2 separate regions of the Homo sapiens genome follow, and region 1 is linked to region 2. The links are contacts of gene promoters, found by promoter capture Hi-C in human tissues and cell types (Jung and others, 2019). All regions are on one chromosome and are shown on one strand. Each heading gives the region's core, a stretch centred on a gene start or on the middle of the fragment in contact. The rest is flanking DNA. Distances are from core to core; before and after follow the strand shown.

The links. The method cuts DNA at HindIII sites, captures the fragments that hold promoters and counts their contacts. A contact is called where the count stands out against the background at its distance.
Region 1: a contact is called between a fragment that was not itself captured here and the fragment with the promoter of WFDC6 in region 2, in 12 of the 25 tissues and cell types used here (H1 embryonic stem cells, IMR-90 fibroblasts, adrenal gland and 9 more).

What each region holds. Positions count from the first base shown.
Region 1 is chr20:45,489,842-45,492,913 of GRCh38, forward strand. The region is part of intron 1 of LOC107987282 (a long non-coding RNA gene); the gene reads left to right. It also overlaps the pseudogene RPL5P2. Among named protein-coding and RNA genes, the nearest start is that of WFDC2, 22 kb to the left of the region's middle. The HindIII fragment of the contact is 6,084 bases long and covers 1-3,072 here.
Region 2 is chr20:45,538,048-45,541,189 of GRCh38, forward strand. It overlaps WFDC6 (WAP four-disulfide core domain 6), which reads right to left and starts at 1,435. Exons shown (of 3, transcript NM_080827.2): 1 at 1,270-1,435; 2 at 1-47. The coding sequence starts at 1,360. EPPIN-WFDC6 (EPPIN-WFDC6 readthrough) reads right to left here. Exons shown (of 5, transcript NM_001198986.2): 4 at 1-47. EPPIN (epididymal peptidase inhibitor) reads right to left here. Exons shown (of 4, transcript NM_020398.4): 4 at 2,579-3,142. It overlaps LOC107987282 (a long non-coding RNA gene), which reads left to right. Exons shown (of 4, transcript XR_001754641.3): 3 at 489-632; 4 at 2,028-2,340. It also overlaps the pseudogene HSPD1P21. The HindIII fragment of the contact is 28,992 bases long and covers 1-3,142 here.

The sequences.
Region 1 (3,072 bases), core at 179-2,678, 48 kb before region 2:
TCCCCACTTTCTGATTTCTATTTTTGTCCATGCTCGGGGCTCCCCAACCTTTTAGGCAGAAACAGAGGCATCCAGTGATGGGTTGGGAAGAGTTGCTGGGAACTCGGTGTGTGACTACCACTAGCTCCACTTTCTCCTGTCCTTCTACAGGTTTGCATTCTGAAAGAGTGGCCCAGGCAGGGTGATGTCTAACCCAGGGATGGCAAAGGTGTCCACATGCCATCATTTCTTCCACCAGCACCCATATCACATGATTGCTGCTCCTTTCCATTAGCCCATGTGTGGCCACAGAGCCCTCAGCACAGGGCTCCAGGCAGCTGCTACAGCTGCCCATTGATTGGGGTTGATAGATAGATTTGCTACCCCTGATTTAACTCAAGAAATAAAATGCTAATGGTGAAAAGTCAGACCTGGCAGTTGAGGTTTTACTGAGTAAGAAGACTGCACAGGGGACCCTGAGCAGGGGTCCAAAGGAGATGGGACCTCAGGCCCTCCACCAGAAGCTTAAGAGGGGGTAAAGCTTTTTCAAGGGGTCCCTAGCCCAGAGGCCTCCTGCAGAAGATGAGGTGGAAGTTGCCAGGGATCTCAGTAATGCACAGGAAGAAGCTACCAGGGAAGGAGGACTGAGAGGTGGGATGGGGCAGGTAAGAAAGCAGGGGTGGGTTAGACGAGGCAGAACCTCTGGCTGAGACCCTTCCTTTAATTTTCTTTTTTAAGCTGCTTGGTCAATAAGTTTATTGTTTTTATCTGAATAATCTTATAGAAAATGACTATTTGCCAGACGTGGTGGAACGTGCCTATATTCCTAAGTACTTGGAAGGCCAAGTGGGGGAGGATTGCTTGAGCCCAGGAGTTGGAGGCTACAGTGAGCTATGATTGTGCCACTGCACTCTGACTTGGGTGACAGAGCGAGACTCTGTCTCTGAAAAAAAAAAAGAAAAAGGAAAAAGAAAAGACAAGAAAATAGTTGTTTGGCTTAGCGCTCAGCAGCCTGCTCCTGAGCTCTTAGAAAACTTGCCTTCTGAGCTACTCAGTCTTTCTTCTGGACAGGGGACGTCTTGGGATGGTTCCACCTTTTCTTAACTTCTTCCCCAGGCTTCCTCTCGTGAACTGGATTCTCTTGTTCAGCATCATGAGCTTTCTTACATGTCTCTCCGTCATGACTGGAGTTATGTTGTTCTTTATGTATTGAGAAAATTGTTTCTTGTAAACATCTTCATCTTCTTACATTGGGTAATGCATATAATCTGCGATCTTCTGACCCAGGATGTGCTTCTGCATTGAACTCCCTGCTTTCTGAATTGGAACCAGGGAATTGTTTGGTAACTGTGAGGGATAGAAAACCTCAATCCACACCTCCCTTCAGGGCCCCCCTACCTTTATTTCCGTTGGTAGTTCTGGCAAGTAGCAAGTGAAGGCACCAAGTAACCATCAATGCTTCCCATGTGATACCCATCTCTGCTCACCTCCACTTGACCTTCATAGGTGTTGTCCATGCCAAGACTATTGAGGGGCCTTCGGGTCAGCACAGGCCAGTACAATGTGCTGCATCATAATCTGGCTGGCCAACCTTCATGCTACACTTTAGACATTCATGAACATATGCTGTGCAGACAATCATATTCCCTTCTGTGTGGGCAAAAACCATATGACAAATGATCTCTCTGTTAGTTGCATGAACTATCCTGAATTTTGGTGTGTTCTACTTATTTTCATCCTGGATTACCAAGTGTGTCTGAGCATAGTAATCAGTTTAACCCACTGGTCTTCTAAATGTCATCTGTATCTCTTAAAGTAGGCCTTACTCTTAACAATTTTAACACACTCCATCCTCCGGAACAGAGAGCTGTGTCCATGGCTTGACACAGACCTGCAGCGTGCAAGGGGGGCCAGGCAAGGCGGAAGCCCTACGATCATTCTTTGATCAACTTTTGCAGCCAAGTGAATGCTGTAGGTTGGGGACTCTGAAGATTTGTGATTGGAAAGGGGGAAGGAAAAAGGACAGGGTCCCAGACTGGTCTCTTCCCCCTCTTCCAGGCCTTGATGGGCCACACTTGATATAGGCAGACCACAGCAAAGCTTAGTTTTGGCCAGGAGAACAGCTCCCAGGGCCCAGGAATCCCAGTAAACAGGTGGATCGAGATGGGACAGCCAACCTCAAGGCCCCTCACAGAACCACTCAGCCCAGCTGCCCCTCCAGACGTCAGGGCAGGGCTTCTTCCCGCACTTATTTTCTCCCATTTCCGATGGCAAACTGCTTTGCAGATGCCTCTAAAGGCCATCCCCAGCCCAGGAAGCCATGTATGGTAATACCTACATGGAAACAGACATCTTCTCTGCAGGAAAGTGCAGGTTTGGGGTTGGAGCGATAGTAAGAAGTTACATGAGTGAGCTGGAGCTTAGAAAATAAAGTTCTAAAGACAGACCAGTCAGGGAGGGGAAGGTCCTGCCCCAGAAACAACATCAGCAGAGGCATTCACTCATTCAATATTTATAAAGCACTTACTATGTGTTCTATTCTAGGTGGTGGGGATTTGATAGAAGGAAAAGAGTGTGTGTGTGTGTGTGTGTGTGTGTGTGTGTGCGGTGGAGAGGATAGCCAATAAATAAATGAACTAACACATATATAACATGTTAGGTGGAGGAAAAGTTATGGAGAAATACACAGGTAAGAGGAATAGTGAGTCTGGGGGTGGGGTAGAGATGGGGGTGATTACTTTGCAAAGTAGTCAGGGAAGGTCTTAAAGTATTATTCAAGTAGTGAACTCAGTGAAGGAGGACATGAGCTGCGTGACAACCCATGAGAAGAGGAATTTAGAGAGAAGAGAGTTCCAGAACAAAGGACCTGAGGTCAGAGTGTTCTCAGGGTGTTGGGGATCATCCAGGAGGCTGGCATGGCTGGGGTGAATGAGTGGTCAGGAGCCTGAGGTGAGTTGAAGTCAGAGAGGTAGCATGGGCACAGAGAATAAGGGCCTTGTGGCTCATTGCAAGGATTTTGCCTTTTATTTGGAGCAAATTTGGGAGCCACTGGAGGAGTTTGAGCAGAAGAGTGACATATGACTTCAGTTGGAA
Region 2 (3,142 bases), core at 185-2,684:
GTCTATTTCTTCCACTTCGCATTCCACTTTGATTTTGGGACACGGCTCTAAGGGAGGGGAAGATATATTCCCTCAAGGCCTTAAAGGAGCCAGTGCTCCCCCTCCCCGAGACCAGGGCACCCCTCCAGAGTTAGAGAACTTTGTTTCCACTTCACCTATCCCCAGAAGGTAGTGGCCCTCAGGGGGCTCAGGAATTTCACAACACTGCTCACATCCCCAACCCCATAACAACTCACCATCGGATGCCTAAACCAACCCCTACCCCCTACCCGCACCATCTATGAGATTCCTGAGAGAAAGACGCATTCCTCTAAGACTGTTCTGGTCACTCAGCCTTGCTGTGCTTGGTTGCTCCCCCAGGAGGTGCTGTGGCTCTCGATGATTGAGATTAACATTTCTGGCATCAGATAGCTGGGCTTTTGAATTCTGTGAGACGCTTGGTGTGCCAGGCACTCTCTCTGAGCCTTGATTTCCTCATTTGCCCATAGGGTTGCTTTGAAGACTAACCAGCAACACAGTTTGACAAGCCATCGTCAAACTGCCTGGGGCAATGTAACGTAACAATGAGTAATATGGATGAAGCACTTACTGTGAGCTGCCTTTTCTCCTTAATCCTCATTACAAATCTATGGGTAAGTACTCTTAATATTCACATTTTGTAAACAGAAGAATTGGAAGCATAAGGAGATTATGTGAATTTGCCCAAGATCACACAGCTACTCAGGGGTGGAGCCAGGTTTGAACCTACAATGTGTGGCTCCTGAGTGCTCACTTTCAACCACTAATTTTCAGTGCCCAGTACAGTTAGCTGCTAATTGTGAGTCTTCACATTTCAGCATTCCAAGGGACTTCTGGAGACCATTCTTTAACCCAAAGACCAGGGTCCTCTGTGGGTATGGGTGTGGGGGCTGCAATGAGAACATTTGGAAGTTGACACAGGTGGTGTTGTGGGGAGCAGCCTGTTTTTCTTGTGGGAGACTTCCTTGGGCTTACTACTCCTTCTTAGTTCATTTCATGAGCTCTAGGTCCAGGCACCTCCAGGAAGAACTCTTTGGAATGGCAGCAAGGAGTCACTTGCCACAGATTTGGATGCCTGTATTCACCAAGGGAGTCTCTTACCAAGAGACTTCAAATAGCTCCCCTCTTTCCCACCTGGAATTCCAGGCAGAGGTGGAGAAAATAATTTCTCAGCTGCAAAATTATTCTTTGTTCCTTCCTCCCCACTGAGTTTCCTTTCCCCATTGCAAGGACGGAGTTCCCAATACTTACTGCCAAGGATGCCTTCAGCGTGCCCAGGTTCCTGGATGTCCCCCAAAAGGATGAATGGTACCAGGATTGGCAGAAGTCCTGAGAGTCCCATTTTAGGAAGTACTGGCCTGGTTGATGGCACCAAAACTAAGAACTGCTCCTCAGCAGCTCCTACATCTGCACTTTGCCTGCCCCGGTGTGGCCCAGCACCTTAAGAGACAGCCCTGGAGACAAGCCAGCCAGACTCCCCGATCAGGAACACCAGATCCCTGAGGCCATCAGTGGGACTACCTGGTACCTACACTGGGGGATAGGTGGCTCCTAATCCTCAGCAATCTGAGGCTTTCTGGTCTACCAGGGAAAGAGGGCACATGTTGTCTTGGGCTTTCCAGGCTCCCTTAGCAGAAGGGGAGGTTTAACTCCAGAGTCTTCCATTTCCCAGGGGGAGTTTGCAGGTTAACAGTATGCTAGCTCTCTTCCTTCTTTCTAATTTCACTCTTCTCCTGACATGTCTATTCTTATGTTTTATTTTTCTCACTCTGTTTCTTCTCTTTTCTGTGCATCTGTATGTCTTTTACTCTGTGCCTGTCTTTTTCTCAGGGAGTCTCTGTCTGTCTGAGTCTCTTTCTCCCCGCCCTTCACTTCCCTCTCTCTTCTTTCGTATGTAAAGATCAGTTACATTTATCCTTTAAGTCGTTTGATTTTGCAACAGTAAATAACTTCTTTCATTACTTTGGGACTTCTCCAACTCTGTTCTCCGTTTTTCCCTGTTGTCACAGCTACAGCATTGGATTAAAAGTCACACCCTGAAGCATTAACGCTTGAGCATCTGTACCAAGTTTTATATCCTTGGTATAAGCCCGAAGGAGGTGAGGAGCCAGTTACCTGGGCATCAGTTCCATCTGGCAAAGGACTGTGGGTAATGGAAGCATTTCTGCAGGGTGGCAGCAGGGTGTGTGTGCAGCAAGGCATGTCATCAGTGGTGAGTGAGAAGTTCATTCCTTTTTATGGCCGAATAATAGCCAATGCACATTGACAGCCTCCTACCTCTAGCATCAGTCCCTAATTTTCTGCTGTGGGTTTTCTCTGGCCCCCAGGGAGCTTGTATAGCTTGCAAGTATAACAGTTTGAAAGAGCGAGGGATTTAGTATCCCTGGCATCCAGTGGGCGTTGGGAATCAGTGGACAAATAGCTTAGCTTTCCCATCACTGGAGACAGATTAAGAAAATTTGTGGTCTGATATCCAGAATCTACAAGGAACTTAAACAAATTTACAAGAAAAAAAACAAACAACCCCATTGAAAAGTGGGCAAAGGACATGAACAGACACTTCTCAAAAGAAGACATTTATGCGGCCAACAAACATATGAAAAAAAGCTCAACACCAGTGATCATCAGAGAAATGCAAATCAAAACCACAATGAGATACCATCTCATGCCAGTCAGAATGGTGATTATTAAAAAGTCCAGAAACAACAGATGCTGGTAAAGCTGTGGAGAAACATGAATGCTTTTACACTGTTGGGAATGTAAATTGGTTCAACCATTGTGGAAGAGAGTGTGCCAATTCCTGAAAGATCTAGAACCAGAAATACCATTTGACCCAGCAATCCCATTACTGGGTATACACTCAAAGGAATATAAATCATTCTTTTATAAAGATACATGCATGTGTATGTTCACTGCAGCACTATTTACAATAGCAAAAACATGGAATCAAACCAAATATCCATCAACGATAGGCTGGATAAAGAAAATGTGGTACATATATGCCATGGAATACTATGCAGCCATAAAAAGAAATGAGATCACGTCCTTTGCAGGGACATGGATGAAGCTGGAAGCCGTTATCCTCAGCAAAGTAACGCAGGAACAAAAGTAAATACCACATGTT